Linked DNA regions of Homo sapiens: all the other regions are linked to region 1. The links are contacts of gene promoters, found by promoter capture Hi-C in human tissues and cell types (Jung and others, 2019). All regions are on one chromosome and are shown on one strand. The core of a region is centred on a gene start or on the middle of the fragment in contact, and the rest is flanking DNA. Distances in the headings are between cores, read along the strand shown. Region 1 holds the start of ZNF732 (zinc finger protein 732). Region 2 has its middle 58 kb from the start of MIR571. Region 3 has its middle 68 kb from the start of ZNF732. Region 4 overlaps LOC124900642 (zinc finger protein 141-like). Region 5 has its middle 63 kb from the start of ZNF718.

The links. The method cuts DNA at HindIII sites, captures the fragments that hold promoters and counts their contacts. A contact is called where the count stands out against the background at its distance.
Region 2: a contact is called between a fragment that was not itself captured here and the fragment with the promoter of ZNF732 in region 1, in 2 of the 25 tissues and cell types used here (lymphoblastoid cells and spleen).
Region 3: a fragment that was not itself captured here is called in contact with the fragment with the promoter of ZNF732 in region 1 in 5 of the 25 tissues and cell types used here (bladder, dorsolateral prefrontal cortex, lymphoblastoid cells and 2 more).
Region 4: a contact is called between a fragment that was not itself captured here and the fragment with the promoter of ZNF732 in region 1, in 5 of the 25 tissues and cell types used here (dorsolateral prefrontal cortex, heart right ventricle, mesenchymal stem cells and 2 more).
Region 5: a contact is called between a fragment that was not itself captured here and the fragment with the promoter of ZNF732 in region 1, in 9 of the 25 tissues and cell types used here (adrenal gland, bladder, dorsolateral prefrontal cortex and 6 more).

The regions. Positions count from the first base shown.
Region 1 is chr4:304,105-306,804 of GRCh38, forward strand. It overlaps ZNF732 (zinc finger protein 732), which reads right to left and starts at 1,370. Exons shown (of 4, transcript NM_001137608.3): 1 at 1,204-1,370. The coding sequence starts at 1,206. The HindIII fragment of the contact is 17,523 bases long and covers 1-2,700 here.
Region 2 is chr4:406,976-409,675 of GRCh38, forward strand. No RefSeq gene overlaps it. Among named protein-coding and RNA genes, the nearest start is that of MIR571, 58 kb to the left of the region's middle. The HindIII fragment of the contact is 3,046 bases long and covers 1-2,700 here.
Region 3 is chr4:236,354-239,053 of GRCh38, forward strand. It overlaps the pseudogene ZNF876P. Among named protein-coding and RNA genes, the nearest start is that of ZNF732, 68 kb to the right of the region's middle. The HindIII fragment of the contact is 5,262 bases long and covers 1-2,700 here.
Region 4 is chr4:219,198-221,999 of GRCh38, forward strand. It overlaps LOC124900642 (zinc finger protein 141-like), which reads left to right. Exons shown (of 2, transcript XM_047416470.1): 2 at 97-446. The coding sequence ends at 200. It also overlaps the pseudogene ZNF876P. Among named protein-coding and RNA genes, the nearest start is that of ZNF732, 85 kb to the right of the region's middle. The HindIII fragment of the contact is 6,520 bases long and covers 1-2,802 here.
Region 5 is chr4:186,259-189,066 of GRCh38, forward strand. It overlaps a transcript of ZNF718 not described here. Among named protein-coding and RNA genes, the nearest start is that of ZNF718, 63 kb to the left of the region's middle. The HindIII fragment of the contact is 8,418 bases long and covers 1-2,808 here.

The sequences.
Region 1 (2,700 bases), core at 120-2,619:
TGTGTTATTGGCAGAATACCCTAGGAGCAAAGCTGTCACGGGCACAATTCCTGAGGGTAGAACCCTGTCCTGGGAGGAGTGTGGCAATGCGAATGGCCAGTGAGCGTCCTCGGGAGTGGGTTAGCATTAAGTGGGGGCTGGCAGCAGGGTGCAGGGAAGGGATGTTTCTCAGAACTCCTTTCCTCTAAGTTCCCAGTCCCTTCTCTCCCCGGAAGGAGACCTGGAGGAAAAGGACAGTGCCCAGCGGGACAGCACATGTGCAGAACCCGGCCGCGCCTCCCGCAGACACCAGGCATCTTTCTCCAGCCCAGGCTCAGCCATGTCTTTCTTCTGACAGAAAACGTGCGGAGTTTGCTCAACATCAGTCAATGCTCCAACCCCAACGCGGTGTCCAGCAACTCACTAACGACACCACCCAGAGTCAGCGAAGACCCCACAAGCTCAGCGCTCTTCCCGCAGCTGCCCCCCCCCTGCAGACGGCAGTCCCTGCCTCTGGACACCCGTCTTCATTTCTGAACGCCTGCCTACAAACCAGGGGCGCCCACACCCTCCTCAAGTTCAATAATGTGGCAGAACTACTCACAGAACTCAGCGAAGCGCTGTGCGCGCCCACACCAGCGTATTCTAAAAGATGCCACTCAGGAACAGCCACGCGGAGGAGGCGCACAGGGCAAGGGGACTGGTGGGCAAGTTGGAGCGGGCGGGTGATTTGCTTCGCTTCCTCACACACCTCACAAAAGCTTTTCCTTCAAGACCCGCTGGCAGCCCCCAAACCACAAGCCATGCCCGGGGCTGTCCCATTAATTAGTCCCCATTTGCTCACATGAACTCTATGTTTTGATAGGGCCTCGATCTTATTCCGAACAGGGTAAAGTAGGGACTCGACGACCGGACCACAGCTCCTCCCAGGCGGGCACCTCGCACGCCACGCAGGCGTTTTCCCGATGAGCTCCTCCTCACCCCACAGCCCAGGGAAGGTGCGGGGCTGCGGGCGCAGAGCTGCACAAGTAGGGCTGCAGGCTGGGCCAAAGCCGCCTTGCGGGGACCGACATGAACCCGGGTCCCTCACCGGAAGGGACCAAGGACTGAGGGCTGAGCGGCGGCAGCGGAGACTCCGTTCGCAGACTCCGTCCCGCCGCCGCCATTTCCCGCCGGTTCGGATGAGGCCTCCCCAGCCTTGGGACGCCCTGCCCCCACACTCACCATTTCCCCACTTCAGGGGTGTAGCGGAGTCTCAGCTACGAATCATCCAATACCCGCAGGTCACAGAGCGACGGAGGCTGAGGCTGTGACCGAATCACCGACGCCTCCCTGAGGGGTGAAAGCACGGCCGTGGAGACCCTAACCGAGCTCACGCTGGCGCAAAAGGCAAAAGCCGCGCCAGATCCCGGATGCCGCCCCCTCCTCTCCGGCTGCGCGCCTGATTGGGCAGTTCTCAATCCAGCGCTCTGATTGGATAAGATACCAAGCTCCCCACGCTCAGAATTTGAGTGACAGAACTTGCCACCACACAGTGCACTTAATGAGGCAAGAGAGACAGACTCGTGCCTCCAGGTATTTTCAGTCAGGGCTTTCTGTGCTAGGCTTGGCTCTGTTGGGGGTTCATTTTTAACCTTCTGGTGTGTAAGGTTACGCCCATTTATAAATTGTGTACGTACGCGCGCGCACACACACAGACACACACTTGTTCACAAATGGAAACAATATAATGACAATTATTTTAATATTTTAGATTTCATAACCTCTCTGTCCTCTGGTCTTTTGAGTAGGATTTTAAGGGGGAAGCAATCCTTTAAAAAATAAAATGTTAGCTATTTGTGAATTTTCAATTTTTTATTAGCCACATCAAAAATAATAAAAAGAAACAAGTGAAATTGTTTATATTTTAACCTATTGTATCCAAAATATTGTTTCAATATGTGATCAATATATAATTAGAAATAAAGTATATTTCTGATTTAATTCGTCTAAACTCACTGTGTATTTTATGTTTGCAGCACATTTTACCTCAAACCAGCCACATTCCAGGTACTCAGTAGCTACATATGTCTGGTGGCTGCCACATCGAGTACAGCCATGAGGGCTCTGACCTCAAGAAAGTGAGGGCCTGAACACGTCTTTTCTACTGGAAGTAAGGGACCAGCCTCTCTACCAACTTTTCTCCTCAGGATGAAGGATGGGTAGGACAGTGCCCCTAGAGAGAGCAGGGGCTGCAAGCTGAGAGTGTCCACGTGAAGATCACTGTCTCCCCCTTGCTGTTTGGTACCAGTGTGGTGGTCTCCTCAGTTCAACCACGTCTGGGCTCTCTTCCCATGACCAGGAAGAATAAGACATACAGACACCAGAGAGTGAGTAAAGCAGAATAGGATTTATTAAGCATAGGGAAAGCTCTCAGCAGTAAGAGGGGACATGAAAGCAGGGTGCCAGAAATGGGGCTGAGTTTATATGGCAAGAACAAGGAAGTCTTCTGTGGGCTCTGCCCAAATGGGAGGGGTAAAGTTCCCCTATAACAGTGTTGCATCTGAGCATGCCTGGGATTGACCACAGTGACTCCGTCTTGGTTATTACCCATGAGTGCCCAAGCGAAACCCACAGCAGGTGGAAAGGGTGAAGCTAAAACCAAAATACTTATGTCATGTTAGGTAACATTATAAGGAGCTGGGTCAAGTTAATGACATTTAGGTTGATTTATTACACCTG
Region 2 (2,700 bases), core at 195-2,694, 100 kb after region 1:
AGCAAGGTCCATGAGGATGTTTTGAGGGACCCCTGGGAGCTGTGGCTTGGAGGTTCTGAAGTTCTTGTATGCTAGAGATGTGGTTGTGGGTTGTCTTACAGTGGAGGCAAGTAGCTGTAACTCAGAAATGCGTTGCTGTCTGGCTACCTCCTCCCTATTATTGTACACCTCGAAGGCGAGGTTGATTAATTCCCGTTGTGGGGTTTGAGGGTCAGATTCCAATTTTTGAAGCTTTTTCTCATGTCAGGAGCTGACTGGGTGATAAAATGCATATTAAGAATAAGGCGGGCCGGGCGCGGTGGCTCACGCCTGTAATCCCAGCACTTTGGGAGGCCGAGGCGGGTGGATCATGAGGTCAGGAGATCGAGACCATCCTGGCTAACAAGGTGAAACCCCATCTCTACTAAAAATACAAAAAATTAGCCGGGCGTGGTGGCGGGCGCCTGTAGTCCCAGCTACTCGGGAGGCTGAGGCAGGAGAATGACGTGAACCCGGGAAGCGGAGCTTGCAGTGAGCCGAGATTGCGCCACTGCAGTCCGCAGTCCGGCCTGGGCGACAGAGCGAGACTCCGTCTCAAAAAAAAAAAAAAAAAAAAAAAAAAAAAAAAGAATAAGGCGGCCTTCTGGCCCCTCTGGGTCTAGGACGTAAAGCATCTCAGGGTTGCTGCCAAGCGGGCCAGGAACCGGGCTGGGTTTTTATATTTGACGAAAAAGAGCCTAAACGCTAACTGATCTGGGAGAGGTCAGATAAAGAAAAAAGAAGCATTAACTTTGACTGTGCCTTTAGCTCCAGCCACCTCTTTAAGAGGAAATTGTTGGGCAGGTGGGGGAGGGCTAGTTGCAGAACGAAACTGTAAGCCAGACTGGGTGTGAGGAGGGGAGGTGATAGAAAGATTATAGGGTGGGGGAGCAGAGGCTGAGGAAGAACTGGGACCTGGCTCAGCCTGGCGAGGAGCAGCCTGGGGAGAAGGGGAGAGGTCAGATGAGTCTGTAGAAAACAAGGATTCAAAGGATTCAGATCTTGGGTTGGAGACTGAAAGAACAGACAGGAGAGAAAGAAGAAAGATTTGGGATGAGTCGGATTGGGAACAGAGACTAGGGAGGGACCAATGTGTAAAGAATGCCTGGACGTCAGGCACCTCAGACCATTTGCCCATTTTTCAACAAAAATTATCTAGATCTTGTAGGATAGACAAATCGAAAGTGCCATTCTCTGGCCACTTGGAACTACTGTCGAGTTTGTATTGGGGCCAAGTGGTACTGCAGAAGAAAATAAGGCATTTAAGCTTTAGGTCAGATGTGAACTGAAGAGGTTTTAAGTTCTTGAGAACACAGACTAAGGGAGAAGAAGGGGGAATGGAGGGTGGAAGTTTGCCCATAATGAAGGAGGTAAGTTTAAAGAGAAAGGTAGAGACAAAGAGAAGAGGGTGGGTGAGCAGCCCTGGGCTGCAATGTGGGTGAGCAGCCAAGCAGGTGTCCCCGCAATTGACTTGCCACCAAGGGAATGTGGGTGAATGACCAAGGCAGGCATCCCTGCGGTTATCAGACACCAATGGAATGTGGGTGAATAATCAGGCAGGCATCCCCATAACGATTAAACATCAAGGGAAGACTGTCTTCCTGAGTCTGTGACCGGCGCCAGAGTTTTGGGTCCACAGATAAAATATGTCTCCTTTGTCTCTACTAGAGAGGAAAAAGAACTGGAATTGGAAGGACAGGGAGATTGAAGGGTAGCGAGAGAGGAAGATTGAAGTGTAGTGAGAGAGGCTAGAGAAGAGTGAAGACTGCTTACCTGATTTGAAATTGATGAGATGTTCCTTGGGCTGGTTGGTCTGAGGACCTGAGGTTATAGATGGATCTCCTCACAGAGTGAGGGCGAGAACAGGGGACTGGTCTCCCAAAGGAGTCCCTCTGACCTGGGTCCTTGGCACCAAATGTCAGGCGTGTCCATATGAAGAGAGTCCACCAACAGGCTTGTGTGAGCAACAAGGCTGTTTATTTCACCTGGGTGCAGATGGGCTGAGGCCAAAAAAGGAGTCAGCAAAGGGTGGTGGGATTATCATTAGTTCTTACAGGTTTGGGATAGGCATACAAAGTACCGTCTTAAGGGCGGGGTGGGGGAGAATATTACAAAGTACCTTCTTAAGGGTTGGGGGAGAATATATCAGTTAGGGTGGGGGCAGGAACAAATCACAATGATGGAATGTCATCAGTTAAGGCTATTTTCACTTCTTTTGTGGATCTTCAGTTGCTTCAGGCCATCTGGATGTATACATGCAGGTCACAGGGGATATGATGGCTTAGCTTGGGCTCAGAGGCCTGACAAAGATCTCCCATTTGTTTGGTCCACAGGCTGAGATTACCTCTGCGGTTGCAGAGAAGAAGGGTTGTAGTAGCTGGCTCACAAGGGTGCTGTGGGGTCTGCCTTTGATGATTGTGTTACCAGAGATTTCGACACTCATGGATTCTTTCTGGGCCATGGAAAGATTAAATATCCTTGAGGACATTAATCTATATGGCAGGCAGTAGGTTAGGGTTTAAAGTTTGTCTGCATATGATGGGTCAAATACAAGGTGTATGAATGGGTTTGGCTTCTGCTGACTACCTGGGAACAGTTTTCAAAGTCTCTATGTGGGTCCCTGAGTGTGTACAGCTGGCCATGGATTGTGGCTGTGAGGGTTAGAACTGAGTCACAGGGCTG
Region 3 (2,700 bases), core at 70-2,569, 68 kb before region 1:
TTTAACATGAATTTTGGAGGGGACGCTCAAACTATAGCAATGTGTTTTTATTGGATAACTAAATCTTTATATATTTAAATGAATTACTGATTGATAAGAACTTACTGCCATTTTCTTACTGTTTTCTGACCATTTAGTAGTTTGTTTTTTCATTGTTTCATGCTGTCTTCCCCTGTATTTTCTTGAATTTTTGTTGTTTTTGTTGTTATATGCATTCTTTTTCTTTTGTGTGTAACCACTACAGTTTTTTTTGTAATTTCCAGGAAGCTTATGTAAAACATCTCATAGTTATAAAATCTAATTTCAGATAAGAATTTAGCTTTTGGTTTGTATAGATAGGGTCTTGCTTTGTTACCCAGTGTAGTGCAGTGGTACATTCATAGCTCAGTGCAGACTTGACCTCCCCAGGCTCAAGCAATCCTCAGCCTCCCAAGTAGCTGGGACTACAAGCACATGCCACCATGTCTGGCTAATTTTTTTAGTATTTTTTGTAGAGACAGGGTTTTGCCAAGTTGCTCAGGCTGGTGTTGAACTCCCGGGCTCAAGCAGTCCACCTGCCTTGGACTCCCAAAGTGCTAGTATTACAGGCATGAGCCATCAGGCCCAGCTGCTTCTTTTTTTAAAAGACTAAATAGCTTTCTGAGATCTTTATTTAATTTTATTTATGTACTTATTTAAGAGACAGGGTCCTGCTATATTGACCAGACTAGTTTTGAACTCCTGGCCTCAAGCAAAAGTTAGCTTCTATGTATAGAAAAATTAAACAATTTTACTCCCTTCAACATAGTATTTATGTCACACTCTACATCTTTTTATATCGTATACCCTTTAACAAATTATTGAAGCTATATGTAGTCTTAATAATTTTTTCTTGTAGCTTTTATACCAGAGTTAAATGTGATTAATTCATTCACCATAATTAGTTTTATAGCCTTCTAAATTCGACTATGTATATATGATTTTCAGTAAGATTTATAATTTTGTTGTAAGTTTGGATTCCATTACAACTTAAATTCTCATTAGCATTTGTTGTAAGTCAGGTCTAGTGATTAAAACTTTCAACTTTTTTTTAATCTGAGAAGATTTTGATACTTCATTTCTAAAGAACAGCTCTGTCAGGTATCGTCTTCTTAGTTGTCAAGGTTTTTTCTTTTTCTTCCTTCATTTGCATTTTAAATATATGGTTTCACTCCTGTGTGGCTTGCATGGTTTTTGCTGGGCAATCTGCTGATAACCTTATAGGAGTTCCCTTGAATGTGAAGAATCTCTTTTCTCTTGCTTTTTTTTTTTTTTTTTTACTTTTTACTCTTTATTTTAGGTTTTGCAGGCAAACCCCAGGTAAAGGGTTTTCTTTTTTTAATTTTAATTTTTGTGAGTATGTAGGACATGTATATATTTGTGTGGCACATGAGATGTCTTGATCCAGGCATGTAATGTGTAACAATCACATAATCAAAAATGGGGTATATCCATCCCCTCAAGCATTTATAATTTGGGTTATAAACAATCCAATTATGCTCTTTTAGTTATTTTAAAATGTGCAACTAAATTATTATACTCATACTGGGTATTACTCATTCTTTCTTTTTTTTTTCTTTTTTGTTTGTCTTTGAATTTTGGCAGTTTAATTATAATGTGTTCTGGACAATTTCTGTTAGATTCTTCTTGCTATAGACATTTTGAGCTTTTAAATTTAATATCTATATTCCTTCCAAGATTGGGAAGAATTTAAGACATTATATCTTTAAACAATTTAAAAATTTTTTTCTTTCTCATGAACCTCCTAAAATTGTACATCCTTACCATTGATTATGAAATATGGGGGACAAATGCTTTATTCACTCGCATTCTTTTTTTAAATTCTAACTAGGAACTTTCAAATAACTTTTACATTTGCTGATTTTTTTTTTCCTGTATAACGGAGTCTCCTGTTAAAGCTTTCTCTTAAATATTTTAGATCTCCTATTGTGTACTTCAGCTCCAGCATATCTAACTGGTTCTGTTTTAATGGTTTCTCTTTATTATAATTGTGATTCTGTTCATACGTTGTTGCAAAAAAAATTTAGTAATGTGTGGTTTTTTTGCATCTCATTGAGATTCTTTAAGATAATTATTTTGAATTCTTAGCCATTTTTTAGATCTGTGTTTTACTGTAAGTGGTTACTAGAGAATTTTTAGTTTCTTTTGGTGGTGTTACATTTGCCTGATCTTTCATGGTCTGTGATGCCTTGTTTTTATGTCCTTGCATCTGAAGGAGTAAATATCTCTTGCAGTCATTATAGATTAGTTTGGGGTGGTAAATATTTTCTCCTATTGGATCTCTGTGCTGATGAGATTTCCAGTGAGTTTGCAGTAAGGTGCATTGGATCTGGATCACAGTGAAGTTCATGCTTGGCAGACCTGTTATTAGGGCATCAGACTGTTGTGGATTCTGTCTATTTTCTAGGAAGACTGAACTTTCTTCAGGATCTTGATCAGTAAGACTGGTGCTGAGAAAAAAAAGTCTCCAGTTGTATATGCAGATGACAGAGCTGATATAATCCATGTGAGCAGGTATGGCTTCTGCTGTGTGGCTCTTGCTGGGTTTTTAGAAATCTTCTAACCCAGTCATTGGACAGATTCCTAGATGAGAAGTACTGACCCTTGGTCACAGCTGAGAGGGTGTGGAACTGATTCATAGGGCTGCTTCAGGATACACAG
Region 4 (2,802 bases), core at 190-2,689, 85 kb before region 1:
TAATTTCTCTTTTCTTCTTAGCATAGTACTAGGTTGGTAATTGGAGAATCTTCAGCAGTAGTCACGTTATTTTATCTTATTTTTTAAATAAAACAGGTGTTGCTCTCTTTAACTCAGACCTGATCACCTGTTTGGAGCAAAGAAAAGAGCCCTTTAATGGGAAGACACATGAGACAGTAGCCAAAGCCCCAGGTAGGTGAGAGTGAATGAAGGAGAGGACACAGGCAAGGGGACCAAAGGTGATGAAGGAAGTCAGGCCTTAAAATGTACTTTGGAAAGCACTTCTTCAATGCAAATAATTTCTGAAAAGGCTGCATTTTTTCTCATGTTCACAAATAGGGGCATCTTCAGCCCCATGCTGTTAAATCTTCTAAAAATTCTCTTTTTTCTTTTTTTTGAGATGGAGTCTTGCTCTGTCACCCAGACTGGAGTACAGTGGTGTGATCTCAGCTCACTGCAGCCTGTGCCTCCCAGGTTCCAGCAATTCTCCTGCCTCAGCCTCCTGGGTGACTGGGATTACAGGCATCTGCCAATACACCTAGCTAATTTTTGTATTTTTAGTAGAGACAGGGTTTTGCCATGTTGGCCAGGCTGGTCTCAAACTCCTGACTTTAGGTGATCCACCTGCCTCGGCCTCCCAAAATGCAGGGATTACAGGCATGAGCCACTACACCCAGCCCTCTTTTTTCTTTAGAGATCTCCCTTCAAGTTTACAGGGATAGCCAATGTCTACTTTATCACTTATAAGGGGCTGCATGATCTCACTGCTGTTCCATTGCTTTTGGAAATATAGGAATAATTGTGTTATTGAGGAGCTCTATGTTAACGTATTTTTTTCAAATATTGATTTTGTATCATGCCTAAATATGTAAGGCAAGTAGTGGACATATTGGAATTTGGTTCAGAAATCCCAGGAACACTAGGGACAGATGTTGCACCTTTTCTGCTTAGTGATTTTTAATCCTGTTGCAAATGTAATTCTACAAAAATTCTTTCTTAGCAATTTTATAAGAATGATAAGCATTTTCCTAAATATGAAAAATGTATTGTTGATTGTACTTCAAAATGTTATTGATTTAGTATAAACTGAGATTTGTAATTTAAACTCTAGATGTGTAAATTTTCAAATTATAATATAGTTTAAAGCATGGTTTTCCAACCTTTTGGCTTCCCTGGGCCACATTGGAAGCAGAATTATCTTGGGCCACACATAAAATACACTAACACTAATGATAACTGATGAACTTTAAAAAAAATTTCATAAATAATTTTTATGATAGCTACTGCAACAGATAAGTGAAATGTTCTTACATTCATAGCATTGGGCACCACTTGATTAAAGTATCTACTCACCTTCAAGATTTCTTAAATGCACTGTCATTAACTAGCTTAGAACACTGCTAAGTGTATATTATTATTTCTTAATAACTATTATCTTATACTTTTAGTAAGAAGCCTACTGGGGGCCAGGCGCAGTCGCTCACGCCTGTAATCCCAGCACTTTGGGAGGCTGAAGTGGGTGGATCACCTGAGGTCAGGAGTTCAAGACCAGCCTGGCCAACATGGCAAAACCCCATCTCTACTAAAATTGCAAAAATTAGCTGGGCGTGGTGGCAGGCACCTGTAATCCCAGCTACTCGGGAGGCTGAGGTGGGAGAATCGCTGAACCCGGGAGGCCGAGGTTGCAGTGAGCCGAGATGGCGCCATTGCACTCCAGCCTGGGCAACAGAGTGAGACTCCGTCTCAAAAAAAAAAAAAAAAAAAAAAAAAGAAGCCTACTGGGGTTTCATCATTGAGATCTATTGATATCTATATAAAAATGTGGGTCTCACACATACACCCACCCATATAAGTTATATATGTGTATTGTAAATTCTCACTTAACATTGTTGATAGTTTCATGGAAACTGTAAGTGAAGCAATATATTGTTTAAGAAAACTAATTTTGGCTCAGCACGGTGGCTCACACCTGTAATCCCAGAACTTTGGGAGACCGAGGTGGGTGGATCATGAGGTTAGGAGTTTGAGACCAGCGTGGCCAACATGGTGAAACCCCATCTGTACTAAAGATACAAAAAATTAGCCGGGTGTGGTGGCATGCACCTGTAATCCCAGCTACTCAGGAGGCTGAGGCAGGAGAATCGCTTAAACCCAGAGGCAGAATTACTATAGTTGAATTGATAGAAACAAGGTTATGTTTGAATGTCATATACCGACATTGTTTTATTTAAAGACGCAGTTTTCAAGAACCTATTTTGAACATTGAGTACTTACTGTACATCTGTGTTTGTGTGACATGGATTTTTCTGATAAATAAAAATGGTATAACTATATATTTAATGTATACAATGTAATGATTTGATACGCATGTACACTGTGAAACAAAATACAGTCAAGTTGATGAGCACATCTAGTACCTCAATTTTTTTTGGAGTAAGAACACTTAAGATCTACTGTAGTAGCAAATTGTAAGCATACATTACAGTATTACTAACTATAAACACAATGCTATTTGGCTAATCTAATGCTAATTTACATTAGATTTCTCAGACTTACTCAACTTATAACTAAAAATTTGTACTCTTTGAACATCTCCTCATATTTCTACCCTCAGGCACTAGCAACCACCATTTTATACTCTGCTTCTATGAGTGTACTTTTTTAGATTTCTCATCTAACTTAAAACAAGGAGTTTCTTTGTCTTTCTGTGTTTGGCTTATTTCATTTAGCATAACGTCCTCCAGGTCTATCCATGTTGTAAATGGCTACATTTCCTTCTCTTCTGGCGGAATAGTATTCTAC
Region 5 (2,808 bases), core at 91-2,590, 120 kb before region 1:
TATGAAATTCTGGGTTGGAATTTCTTTTCTTTAAGAATGTTGAATATTGGCCCCCAATCTCTTCTGGCTTGTAGGGTTTCCACTGAGAGGTCTGCTGTTAGTCTGATGGGCTTCTGTTTGTAGGTGGCCTGACCATTCTCTCTGGCTGCCTTAACATTTTTTCTTTCATTTTGACCTTGGAGAATCTGGTGATTATATGACTTGGGAATGGTCTTTTCATGGAGTATCTTACTGGGGTTCTCTGCATTTCCTGAATTTGAATGTTGGCCTGTCTAGCTAGGTTGAGGAAGTTCTCCTGGATGATATCCTGAAATATGTTCATACGTCTCAGAGGTTTTGTTCATTCCTTTTCATTTTTTTCTCTATTCATGTCTGCCTGTCTTATTTCAGAAAGGACAGTCTTCAAGCTCTGTGATGTTTTTCCTCCACTTGGTCTATTGTGCTATTAATACTTGTGATTACATTGTGAAGGTCTTGTAGTGTGTTTTTTCAACTTTATCAGGTCATTTATGTTTCTATGTATACTGGCTATTTTGGCTGTCAGCTCCTGCATTGTTTTAACTTGATTCTTAGCTCACTGGGTTACAATGTGCCCCTTTAGCTCAGCAAAGCTCATTTGTATTCACATCCTGAAGCCTACTTCTATCATTTCAGCCATTTCAGCCTCAGCCCAGTTCTGAACTCTTGTTGGAGAGGTGTTGCAGTCATTTGGAGAACATGGTGCACCCTTACTTTTTGAGTTTTCATCATGTTTGTGCCACTTCTTATCTTTGTGGGCTTATCTATTTTCAATCTTTCAGGTTGCTGACCTTTGGATGGGGTTATTGTGGGGGTTTTTTGTTGTCGTTTGTCTGTTTGTTTTTCTTTTAATCATCTGGTTGCTCTTTTGTAGGGCTACTGTGGTTTGCTGGGGGTCCACTCCAGGCTTGGTTTTTTTGTTTTTTTGTTTTTTGGGGTTTTTTTTGTTTTTGTTTTTGTTTTTTGTTGAGACGGAGTCTCGCTCTGTAGCCCAAGCTGGAGTGCAGTGGTGTGATCTCGGCTCACTGCAACCTCCACCTCCAGGGTTCAAACGATTCTTCTGCCTCAGCCTCCCGAGTAGCTGGGACTACAGGTGTGCACCACCACGCCCAGCTAATTTTTGTATTTTTAGTAGAGACAGGGTTTCACCATATTGGCCAGACTGGTCTCGAACTCCTGACCTCAAGATCCACCCACCTTAGCCTCTCAAAGCACTGGGATCACAGGCATGAGCCATGTGAGCCACTGTGCCTGGCAGTCACCTTGGTTTTTTAAGTACCTGGAAGTATCACCAGTTAAGGTTGCAATACAGCAAGGATGGCAGCATGCACATTCCTCTGGGGTCTCCATCCCAGGGGGTACTGACCTGTTGACTGCCTGAACACAACTGTAGGAGGTGGCTGGAGACCATGGTTTGGAGGTCTCACCCAATCAGGGGAAAGGGGATGAGCAACCAATTAAAGGAGGAGTCTGGCTGTGTTTTGGTAGAGCAACTGTACTGTGTTGGGGGGATTTGTTCAGCCCCCAATTGGCTTGGGCTCTCCAAGGCCCACAGGCTGCACTGGCTGAGATGCCCAAACAGCAAAGATGGTGACCCACTCTGCCTCCTGGGCACCCCCATCCCAGGGAGAAATTAGAACTCTGTTGGCCTTAGAACATGGGCATGGGTGGCAGGAAGCCCTGGCTGGGAGTACCTGCCCAGCAAGGAAAAATGGATTGGGGTCCCATTTAAAGAAACAGTTATGCCATGCCTCGACAAAACAGCCATTCCATGCTGGGGAACCACCTTTGTCCCAGTCAGCTTGGACTCATAAGCTGGAATGGCTGAGTCACACAAACAGCTAAGGTAGCAGCCCATCTTCCCCTTTCTGAGCACTCTATCTTAGGGAGAAATCAGAACTCTGTTCATAGAATATGGGTGGGGCTGGCTGGAGGCCCCTGCTGGGAAGACTCATCCAGCGAGGATAATGGATTGGGTTTTTATTTGAAGAAGCAGCCTGGCCATATCTTGGTAAAACAGCTGTGCTGTGCTGTGCTGTGGGGTCCCTTCCTCATTCGGATTGTTTGGATTCTCCAAAGCCAACGTCCAAGCAGCAAAGATAGTGGCCTGGCCCTCCCCCAGGGGCTCTGACCCATCTCAGTCAGGTGCTAGGCTGTTGCTGGTGGCTGGAATTCCAAGCCAGTGGGTCTTATCATATGAGGTGCAGTGGAAGTGGGGCCCACAGACTGTTGCTGCTCATCCCCCTGGATTCAGCCTCTTCCTGGAGGCATGCACTGACCTCCCACCTTGTCTGAGTTGCAGTCACCTTTGTTGGAAATCCCAGGACTGAAGTGTGTAAAGCTCCTGGGTCTCTGTGTGTGTCTAAGCAGCTGCTCTACTGAGACTCCACACAACTCTGTGTGTCAGGCCCAAGGCCCTGGTCAAGTGGGCTCACAAGGGGCTCTCCTAATACAAGGGTTGCAAAGATTTGTGGGAGAAGTGTGGTTTCCTAGGGTTGCAAATTCACTCACCCCTATTCTTGGCTGGGGCTGGGCGTTTTGTTGGCTCTGTGTCACTCCCAGATAGGTCCTCAAAATCTATCCTTATAGTAGTACCCTATTGTTTGGTTATGATAACATTTTAGTAAGAACTGATATCAGAAGTAAATTTTGTTTTTATTTTCAAAGTCTCATGTGTGTTTGATTTTTTTTTTTTGCACATCCATATAGAATTTAGAAAGAGCAGCTTGTCAATTTACATTGAAAATAATTTACTTTGAAATTTACATTGAATCTGTAGATTATTTTTTT